4 separate regions of the Homo sapiens genome follow, and all the other regions are linked to region 1. Evidence: promoter capture Hi-C in human tissues and cell types (Jung and others, 2019). All regions are on one chromosome and are shown on one strand. The core of a region is centred on a gene start or on the middle of the fragment in contact, and the rest is flanking DNA. Distances in the headings are between cores, read along the strand shown. Region 1 holds the start of MTIF2 (mitochondrial translational initiation factor 2). Region 2 overlaps EML6 (EMAP like 6). Region 3 overlaps RTN4 (reticulon 4). Region 4 overlaps EML6 (EMAP like 6).

What was found. The method cuts DNA at HindIII sites, captures the fragments that hold promoters and counts their contacts. A contact is called where the count stands out against the background at its distance.
Region 2: a fragment that was not itself captured here is called in contact with the fragment with the promoter of MTIF2 in region 1 in 1 of the 25 tissues and cell types used here (lymphoblastoid cells).
Region 3: a contact is called between a fragment that was not itself captured here and the fragment with the promoter of MTIF2 in region 1, in 2 of the 25 tissues and cell types used here (H1 embryonic stem cells and hippocampus).
Region 4: a fragment that was not itself captured here is called in contact with the fragment with the promoter of MTIF2 in region 1 in 1 of the 25 tissues and cell types used here (IMR-90 fibroblasts).

The regions. Positions count from the first base shown.
Region 1 is chr2:55,267,907-55,270,606 of GRCh38, forward strand. MTIF2 (mitochondrial translational initiation factor 2) reads right to left here and starts at 1,325. Exons shown (of 16, transcript NM_002453.3): 1 at 1,263-1,325; 2 at 672-833. RefSeq lists enhancers at 1,268-1,417, 1,363-2,186. The HindIII fragment of the contact is 5,929 bases long and covers 299-2,700 here.
Region 2 is chr2:54,900,189-54,902,888 of GRCh38, forward strand. All of the region lies in intron 22 of EML6 (EMAP like 6), which reads left to right. Among named protein-coding and RNA genes, the nearest start is that of RTN4, 150 kb to the right of the region's middle. The HindIII fragment of the contact is 4,274 bases long and covers 1-2,700 here.
Region 3 is chr2:54,975,213-54,977,940 of GRCh38, forward strand. The region is part of intron 5 of RTN4 (reticulon 4); the gene reads right to left. Among named protein-coding and RNA genes, the nearest start is that of RTN4, 74 kb to the right of the region's middle. The HindIII fragment of the contact is 8,425 bases long and covers 1-2,728 here.
Region 4 is chr2:54,861,393-54,864,092 of GRCh38, forward strand. It overlaps EML6 (EMAP like 6), which reads left to right. Exons shown (of 42, transcript NM_001039753.4): 13 at 2,391-2,497. Among named protein-coding and RNA genes, the nearest start is that of EML6-AS1, 110 kb to the left of the region's middle. The HindIII fragment of the contact is 3,975 bases long and covers 1-2,700 here.

The DNA of each region.
Region 1 (2,700 bases), core at 75-2,574:
TAAAGATCAAGGAAAAATCTAACTTAATGCCAACGAAATAAACACATTAAGATTTAGAAATTCAGGCTGGGCGTGATGGCTCATGCCTGTAATCCTAGCACTTTGGGAGGTCGAGGCGGGCGGATCACCTGAGGTCAGGAGTTCGAGACCAGCCTGGCCAACATGGTGAAACCCCCTCTCTACTAAAAGTACAAAAATTAGCCGGGTACGGTGGCGGGCGCCTGTAATCCCAGCGACTTGGGAGGCTGAGGCAGGAGAATCGCTTGAACCCAGGAGGCAGAGACTGCAGTGAGCCGAGATCAGGCCACTGCACTCCAGCCTGGGCGACAGTGAGACTCTGTCTAAAGAAAAAAAAAAGAAGATTTGGAAATTCATTCAATAGTATTTACACACATTAAATACTTCTAAGAATGGCACATGGAAAATATCTTATTTACGTTTGTGCCCCTGGACCAAGAAGTAGAGTGCTCAGGTAACACAGGATTCCTTGAGAAAATAATTTTTAAATCAGTATGAAACCAGATTTGAGAAGAGCACAGATTAATGGAGTGGGAGGAAGGACCCTACGAGATATTAACCAAAGCACAGATATGTAATTGAGGCAGGAACTGGAAAGACACATTGGAGGCAATAACCCAAATGTCAAAACTGGAAGGAAACTTGTCACTTACTCCAAGCTCCTCATTTTACAGAAAAGGAAACGGAAATCCAGAAGGGTCAAAAAAGCTTCTCCAATGTCATACCGCTAGTTAATGGCAGTCAAGACTAGAACCCAGACGTTCTGACTCCCAGTACGGTGTTGTTTCGCCGCTAGGATATCCTTGTCAAGGAATCTGAAAAAAGTATGTTGCAAATACGTAGTTGCGTTAGGGAAAACGTCTGAATGTGAGCTGGAAGCTTTGGAACTTACCAGAAAGGTAAAAATAAATCACTGCAGAAAAATTACGGATCTGGGGTGGCTCGCCTCAAATTGGAGCCCAGAAGGCCTTGGGCCCATGGGAGGCTGGGAAGTGAGGACCTGCACCCACAGCCGCGCGCGAGGAGGGGAAGCCGGCCAGCCGCTTCCGAGAGAACAGTGCACATGCCTTCGTGAATGCCTAACGTGGGCTCACGCAGGGATTAAATGCATCTTGGAAAGGCTTCCGAACGCACAATGTTTATGAAGTTCGCGTGATTTGTGCCACTGACACGTTAGGCGAAACAACACACACCACCTGCACCGGACAACCCTGGTTAAGGGATCCTACCCACTTAACTCCTACCTACAGCCCCGGGCCCCTGGATTCTGAGCACGGGCGGAGATCACCTTCTGGACCCGGAAGAATGGTCGGTAGGTCAGTCCGTCCCCGCTACGGTCCCCGCCGGGCTTCCGGTCCCGCTGGAAAAGGTTCTTTCCGGAATTCAGAGAGTTGCTGTCGCCGCTGGGGGTGGGACTGTCTGCGGTGTCCGCGGCGGGCGTCCAGCCTGGGAGGCGCTGGTTCAACCTGTGGCTCCTCCCAGGGTCAGCCGCGCGTGGTGAATCGTTTCTGCAGGTCCCTTCCATTTCTTACTTTCCTTTCCTTTCTTTCTCTCTTTCCTTTTTTTCTTTCTGTCCCTCTCCTTTCTTTCCTTCCTTCCTTTCTTCATTTCTTCCTTCCTTTCCTCTTCCTTCCTTTCCGTTTTTCTTTCTCTTTTTTTTTTTTTTAAGAAAACTGCCTTTATTCAATTAGAAGTTGGAAAAATTAACTGGTACAGAAAAAAAGTGTAATCAGCTGGAGAAAAAGTGCCACCCATGAGAACTGATGGCTCCTCTGGGAGGGAATCTGGATACAGTGAGGATTTCTAGGAAGCAAATTACTTCTTCTCTGGGGCTATGAGAGGCCTCGGTGGTGCTTAACACTGTAGGAAACGTTAAATGGAGAATTGTGGGAGAAATGATACCTCCTTCAAAGATACGTGTTCCTAACAAGAAGGAAAAAACAAATGCAAGCGAACAGTGGCGGTAGAACCAGTTAGTATTGTGCGAACAGTACTTTCTGTTTTCTCCTAAGTCAGCTCGTGTGTATGGCATTAGGAGTAATAGAGCCAGAGTGCCTGGTTTCCTATCCCAGCTCATTCCTAGTGTGTGGTTGGGAATGTTTTGTCAACTGTCCATGTCCCAGTTTGTTCATCTACATTATAGTAATGACAGTAGCTAGTTCACAGGATTGTAATAAGGTTTTTGTTGTGTTTTTGTTTCTATTTGTTTTTGAGATGGAGTTTCGCTCTTGTTGCCCAGGCCGGAGTGCAATGGCACGATCTCAGCTCACCGCAACCTCTGCCTCCCGGGTTCAAGCGATTCTCCTGCCTCAGCCTCCCGAGTAGCTGGGATTACAGGCATGTGCCACCACTCCTGGCTAATTTTGTGTTTCTTGTAGAGACAGGGTTTTTCCATGTTGGTCAGGCTGGTCTCGAATTCCCTATTTCAGATGATCCGCCCACATCGGCCTCCCAAAGTGCTGGGATGACAGGCGTTAGCCACCTCTCCCAGACTGTTTTTTGTTTTTTTTGAGACAGTGTCACTCTGTCGCCCAAGCTGGAGCACAATGGCGCGATCTCGGCTCATTGCAACCAAACTCCGCTTCCTGGGTTCAAGTGATTCTCCCGCCTCAGCCTCCCGCGTAGCTGAGATTACAGGGGCACATCACCATGCCTCACTAATTCACCATGTTGGCCAAGCTG
Region 2 (2,700 bases), core at 111-2,610, 370 kb before region 1:
AGTAAATATGTCTTGAACACCTAAATGCACTAGAACTATGAGGTGTACTGAGAGGTACAAATTCAGCAAACATTTATTAAGTAGCTTCTGTGTGGCAGGCACAGGGGATCCCATGATGAATGGTCCCATCTCTAGTGTCAGAGATAGACAGGACTTGAACAGAGTCTCAGCAACATATCCATTCAAATTGGGTAATTCGAGGAGAGTCTTTAAAATGGGACTATTTATATAAAGGGATGGGGAAGGTATGAGGAAATGACCAGGGATAGTGCAGCACTATGCAGCTAGTAATGGCGGCTGCTCTCACTGGCCCTGGGCTTGAAGGGACAGGAGGAGAGGACAATTGCTGCAACCTTGAATATGAGAGCCACATGAGATGGCAGCCTGAGAGAAGCCACGACTGATAGCAGGGGACTCTGCCAGCATGCAGTGACCCTGCGGGAGGCAGCCAGGGAAATAAATGGCCCGGCCTCCCTATTCTTCCTCCATCTCTCTAATTTCCCACCAGTGCTCCCCGTTGGCCAAAGTCAACCTGAAACCAGAGGACAAGGGAGCCCATTGATGCTCTCCATGCAGACCAGCTTCAGGCACAGAGCAGGGTGGACAAGGGCAAAAAGGGGATGTGAAAGGACAAACTAAAGATATTTGGCACAAAGTACCCTGGAGCCTCAGAGGACATCTACTGCTTGGAAATGCTTCATCAGAGAGGTGACGAGCTGAGGCTTGAAGGATCTGTAAAAGTTCTTAAGAGGGAAGGATGAAATTGAGGTCTGACCCTAAAATATTTGTACTGAGTAATTTTATAAGCAGACATGAGGATTGTATTCTAGGGTAATAAAATGAAGAAAGGTGTCAAAACAGTAGTAACAATAGTGATGGTGGCTAATATGGCTGAGCCAACAACTATGCCAGCTCTTTCCATGTAGTCTTTGTAGGAACCCCATGAGTAAGGCTATTATTATTGCCACTTACAAATCAGAAAACTGAGGCACAGGAAGCTTAATTAGTTTGCACATTTAGTAGGTAATGGAACCAAATTCAAACCCATGCAGTGTGACTGTGAGAACACACCTGTGGCCACTGCTTAACACTATTTCCCTCTGCCGTGTTGCCTGTCTTTACACTAGGCTCCTGGGGATTGGTAAATGGTGGAGGCAGGATTTCCCAAATCTAAGTCCAAAGCCCATGCTCGTAATCACTACAGGCTAGAATCATTTTGGCTACTAGTTTATATCGGGGGAATGATAGGCCAAGTCCTCACTGTGAAGGACTTGAATGTCAGTGAATGGACTTTATTCTCTAAGTTAAAAATTAGTTGAACAACTATTGACCCATCTTAGATAGGATAACCATTCAACCCAGTTTACCCCTGTTGTTCTGGTATAATTATTAATAGCTTTCCTTTTCACTCTCAAACGTGTCTTGGTCTGTACGATAGATTGTGATTAACCTAATCTTGATGATGCTCTTCAAGGGCAGGCTTGTATTTTCATTGTCTCAGTACTGGCACGTCAGTTTTGAGCATGAACACAGCTTTCAGCATACCATGAACAGAGGAGTTGGTAAAGAGGCTCGGTATTAAATGCCCTGGCACAAGGCCACCTGGCTGTCCTATCCCTGGGGTGTGCTTACAACGCTCGACAATAAGAATGGTGGCAGAGGGTAGGCATGTTCTTGAATCAGTTTCCTTTTAGACATACCTTTGCAAAGTCCATGCTCCTGATTCAGAAATGTCTTTGTGACCCTACAAAGGAGTAGAGAACATGGTTCATGGAGCACCATCACCCTAGTGCCAATTAGTTTTCCAGAAACCCCTTGGGAGAATGTTCAGATTCCATTCTTCGCGTGACAGAAGAGGCAAGAACAACATCTTTCACCTCTAGAGTTATACATTACAATCCGTGGATCAGAGAATTGGAGCAACTAAAAGAATGAGGTCCTCTAAAGCAAGTTGTATGTAAGGCTTAATATTTAAAAAAAATGGTTTCTGGAAATTTTATTATAGAACTCCTATTCTTAAATATTACCTCTTTTCTTCGAAGCAAAGATACTGGTCCTATTAACCCTATACTCCTTTTCTCCATTTACCCCACTTATTTTTTGGAAACCCCAGGTATTTAAATACTCATAAATGAATGAATAAACCTCATGGAAGTTGAAAATGTATTTTTGATATTATGATCTTTTTCCTTGGACTTGGGGAGAAGAGATACTTAATTTTATTTTCTTGAGACAGGGTCTCCCTCTGTCATCCAGTCTGGAGTGCCATGGCATGATCACTGCTCACTGCACCCTCCACCTCCAAAGCTCAAGTGATCCTTCCACCTTGCCTCCTGAGTAGTTGGAATTACAGGCATGTGCCACTATTCCTGGCTAATTTTTGTATTTTTTGTAGAGATGGGATTTTGCTGCGTTGCCCAGGCTGGTCTTGAACTCCAGGGCTCAAGCAATCCACCTGCCTTGGCCTCCCAAGGTGCTGGGATTACAGGCATAAGCCACTGCACCTAGCTTATTTCTTTACTTTTTGTACAGGGTGGGTTTCGCCTCTACAAAAAATAACTTTTCAACTAATTTTTAACCTACGGAATGTGGCCCAGACTGGTCTCGAACTCCTGGGCTCAAGAGTTCCACCTGCCTCGACCTTCCAAAGTGCTGGGATTACAGGCATGAGCTGCTGCGCCCAGACAAGAGGTGTCTTAA
Region 3 (2,728 bases), core at 145-2,644, 290 kb before region 1:
TACTTATCAGGGAAATTACGTTTCAGGTACCAAAAATATCACCTCTAGCCTTTGAAGGATCAGGCACAAAGTCAGTCTGAATTTTGTTAAACATTGGTCATCATCAGTTCCTTTGCTTTCTAATTCAAGGCCTTCATGTGTATGTCTGGCAATCACTTTGACCTACTTAGTAGGTAACAAACATGATGCCACCAGCTACAGTGATTATTTAGGCTTATGTAACACTATAAATGAAAAGGGGAGTAGTAGAGCACCCCCATTATCTAAAGCGGGGATCAGCAAACTTTCTCTGTGAAGAGCCAGACAGTAGAATTTTAGGTTTTATGGGCCACATAGGGTTTGTGTCTCATATTATTCTGTGTCGTTGTCATAACCCTTTAAAAATGTACACCACCCACTCTTAGCTCCCACACTATACAAAAACAGGCCGTGGCCCAAACAAGCAGTGGTTTGCTAACCCTTGATCTAAAGCATATATCTTTCTCCATGTATTAAACGAACTCTGACTGAATGCTTACTGACCATTAATTAAGCAGTCAAACATTAGTAAGCATATTTATTACAGCTTAGGAAGACACTTTGGATGACTCTACCAAGCAACAGTTCTACAAATAGCAACACTCTGGTCACCCTAACTGAATTTAACTAATGTTCAAGTCAGTAAATATCAGGCATTCTTAATATCTGTCAATTGAAAAAAAATTTTTTTAAGCTGCCGTATTCTTAGCAATTGCTATTGGAACCCCTGGTAGAAAGGTTTGAAGGATGACTTCAGTTAGTAAGGCTTTTCTCTCACAGTTTTATAGACTCCTATTGCTGAAGCTAAATATAACTTTTGCACTTGAGCAAGTTTACTATAGAGTAAGAGAGTTATTTTTATCCATCACTATCCACAAGTCTAAAGGGAAAAGTGTTGACCTTCCATATTTTAGAAGAAATTACTCTAGCAACGAAGATGCCCTTAACATGACAGAAGATAGTAACAAACACAAGCTAAAATAACTCCTCATTTGGTCATTACAGTCACTGACAAGGCTTCACTCCAAGTCCACAGGGGAAAAGCCCAAGACTTCACACCTGAGCCACTGTAGGGGCTCAAATGTCACTTGCCTCTTTGAGAACACTTCCTAAAAGCCAGGCTATCCCAAGACAAAGAGAAGAACACAGGGAGGTCTCAAATGTCCTTAGGGCCAGGCAGGTGACATACATGTATGTGAGAGGCTGGGAGAGAACTGAGGCACACAGTGATATGCATTCTTCCTCTCAAAGGGGCACTTACAACCCTGCTCCATACGCTGTGGCCATGCAAATATTCCAGGCCAGTGTTGCCAGAAATGTACACTTTTGTGTGCTATCATATAATTTTTAAATGTTGCAGCTATGTTGAGAAAACTGAATACTTCGGCGGCCCAAAACAGAAATAGTGGTTAAGTGTATTCAGGGAACACACCACCAGGAGAGAAAGGGGTGGCAGCAAGAACTAACCTAGAGAGTAACCATTATTAATGGGAATCCACCACAAATGATGGATTTGTAACATGGCAGGAATAAGGTCAATAAACACTTTAAAGAAGCAAACAGGCTGCTCTCATTTTGGACTTAACAAATTCTACACGATTCCATGGCAAATACTTTGCAACATTATAGCCAATACTTATTAACTGAAGAGGTCAAAGCTTATCTCTCCATTGCACAGTATCGAGACTGGAGGAAGGAGGCCTAAAATGTAATGAAGATCTAACAAATACTTACTGAAAAGGGGCAAGGGCCACATCTGGTTTATCTTTCTTCCAGGGCAATAAGAGAATTAAATTCACTGTGTATAACACACCTGATTAAAGAGCTCTGCAGATTTGTGATGTTTCAATTTGGGGGAAGGGGTATCTTTAAGGCAAACGGTGGGAGAGTGCTTAGTAAGATCTCAGAAATTACTCTGGCAGTTCTGACCATTTCAAAACTTTCCTGCACTCTCAAACTCTAAACTCTACTTGCCCTTCTGTGTCTCCTTCAGATTCATTCATTAGTTGGTAGTTTGGACTCTCTCTATATCCCCAGCCCACTTCCTTCTAATTTTTCTGAGAGCTCAAGAAACCTGAAAGGAAGCTGTCAAAATGTGAATGTTAACAGCTGCCTATGAGCCTGAGAGCTAGATTTTAGTGTTCTTCTGGGTCAGCTATTTCTGGAGCTCAGGCCGTTTTTTTTTTTTTCTTCCTCTCACTTTCAGATTTAAGATTGTGTTCTGGAACATTATAGTTGCGCCTCAATTACAGAAAAGTAAGAACCTCTGCTGAAAATACCTGGTCTTAGTCCCTAAAAAAGTAAAATTATTAGACAGCTTTTTGGGATTTGAGGTTTCAAAAGACAGGAACCTGCTAAGAAGGCTCAGTCAGACTCAATTAGCCCAAAAGCTGAGCCCAGTAGGCATTGTCATATGCTTTTCTTTCATAATTGCGGGTGGGAAGCGAGGGGAGGGAGGATTTATAGTTTAATGCCACAACTTTTTAAAACAGTGATTTTTGCCATACTATTTGACTAGGAAAATGATCGTTGCTCACTCTATAAATACTTGAAATCTTTTCTAGGACTTAGAAGTTTGTAGTTAATTGCAAAGGAGCAAAACAAACGGAATATTACACAAGAATTTAAAAGGAGAACTCTGCAGAACATGTCTTATTTTTATTCGCCCAAGTCAACCACCAGGAAACTTGGACCAGGCACACGGATACCC
Region 4 (2,700 bases), core at 11-2,510, 410 kb before region 1:
TATCTCCCCAGGATCAGAGGGTACAGCCTAAATGTGAGTACAGGCATTTGTCACAGATTCTCTACCTGGCTTAGTGCAGAAAAAGTGAGCGGTAAATGACTGTGCTCAGCTTCACTGTGAAGATAGAAGGAATTGAAACACATAGTCCACCCTCCAACCCTTCTAGCTACATCAAAAGTGTCTTGATGTCTTCCCCCCTTTACAGTCTTGCGGTACCAACAGGACATGGCACATCTTAAGCTCTAGGGGCCACCAAAACAGACAATAGTCTGGACAAACACAGATTTGAGAGGCACCTTAAAACCATTGGCCAGTCAGATTGGTGAGATCCTTCTCCTATACAAGGCCAGTCTGACGAGATAGGGAGAGGTTTTTTGTTTTTTTTTTTTTTTTAATCTAATGCACAGAAACCAACACACAGTGTCAGTGACAATGAAGAAATGAAATTCCAGATAAACGAGCAAGACATCTCCAGAAAGCAACCCCAGTTAAGTAGAGATATGTGATTTACCCAACAGGGAATTCAAAATAATAGTCATAAAGACCCTCACTGAGGTCAAGAGAGCAATATAAGAACAAATTGAGAACTTTAGAGATAGAAGGTGTTTTTTAAAACTACTCAATGAGTTTTGGTACTTTTGAAATACTTTCTCTGAGGATTGGCTGAGCACGTTGACTCATGACTGTAATCCCAGCACTTTGGGAGGCTAAGGCGGGTGGATCACTTGAGGTTAGGAGTTTGAACACCAGCCTGGCCAACATGGTGAAACACCCTGTCTCTACTAAAAATACAAAAATTAGCCAGGCAAGGTGGAGCACATCTGTAATCCCAGCTACAGGGGAGGCTGAGGCAGGAGAATTGCTTGAACCGGGAGGTGAAGGTTGCAGTGAGCCACGATTGTGCCACCGCACTCCAGCCTGGGTGACATAACATGACTCCATCTCTAAAAAAAAAAAAAAAAAAAAAAAAAAACTTTCTCTGAAGAGTACTGCCACTGAACTGAAAAATTCAATAGAGAGGTTCAACAGCAGACTAGATTAAGCAGAAGAAAGGAACAGTGAACTTGGAAAGACAGATTACTGGGAACCATCCAATCTGAGAAACAAAAAGAAAAAGAGTAAAGATAGCTTAGAGACTTAGGGTGGTCCAACAACTTACGTGTTACCAACATGCCAAAAAGAGAAGAGAGAGAAATGGGCAGAAAACATGTTCAAGGAAATAATGGCAGAAAAATTCCCAAGCCTAGGAAAGAAAATAAAGCCAAATCTAGGAAGCGCAAAGGACACGAGTAAGATGAATCCAAAAAGATGTACCCCAAGAAACATCTTAAATGATCAAAAGTTAAAGGCAGAGCATTATAAGTAGTCAGGGAAAAGAGAATCATCACACATAAGGAAACCTCTATAAAACCATCAGCAGATTTCCCAAATGCAAGTTGAAGGTCTAAGGTTTACGTGAAGAATTAACCCTTGGGGGATAACAGGAGAGGATACATTTCAGCTTCCTTAGGACAATTGTAACAGGCAGTGGGTCTGTTCAGTCAGGCTGCAGGGGAACAGGGTAACCTTTGAAATGTAAGTGGCCTTCAGAATGGGGCTCAAGCAGTGGTTCACGGTTGGGGCCTATGTGTTCCAATTCAGTGGACATGTATGTAGTCTTTTCATTTATCTCTGATGTCAGCAGGCATGAGCAGGTGATAAAATGAAAAATTATTTGAATAAATGTTGACAAGAGTTCTGTGGTGGTTTGGGCCATGACAATTACCAACACTTGGGTGGGCATGGTTAAAAGGCTAAAGAGGATCTGTATTGAAGTAAATGGTTGGGTTTATTTTTGCCCTAGCCTTTCACTTTTTAAAACCTGCCCATTTTACAAAACAAAGCTTAAAACCCAGGTATCTGCTATCTAATAGAAATGTGTAAATGACCAACCTAGGCAATGTGGTGAAACCCTGTCCCTACAAATAAAATTTAAAAATTAACTGGGCATGGTGGTACGCATCTCTGTAGTCCCAGCTGCCAGGAGGCTGAGGTGGGAGGATTGCTTGAGCCCCGGAGGAGGAGGTTGTAGTGAGCTGAGATTGTGCCACTGCGTTCCAGCCTAGGAGACAGACCCTGTCTCAAAAAAAGTATAAATGAGTTTAGTCTGCCTGGTGGGTGGTGTGGGGAAGGAAGTTGGCCTAGTCTGTTAATGTTCCTGAAAGGAGTGAAGGGTGGGCTGAACTAAACCAAAAGGTGAAAGAAAGATGTTTTAACAATTTATATTAAATGAAAACTATGGTATAGTTTTTATTTACTTTGCTAGGATAAAAGGAAAAATATTTTAGATAATTTCAGTTGCTCAGAGTCTCAGAATTTTTGCTTGTTTCTTGTGGGTTGTATCTCTGCAGAAGGTGGAGCTGATTCCTACAGTGAAGAATCTGATTCAGATTTATCTGATGTGCCCGAACTGGACTCTGATATTGAGCAAGAAGCTCAAATCAATTATGATCGCCAGGTCGGTAAGCAGGGAGCAATGAAAATTTGTAACCCCAGAAGGGGATCTCATTCCTGGATTTGGACATAGCACTAAAAATGACTGGCACTTAGACAAAGAGAATTGAGGCAAAAACAAGAAAAATAGTCTACTTTGTGCCTTTAAGTGCAGGTTAAAACCGACGTGTTTACCCAATCATACCATTAAAATTTATTTCAGCAGAA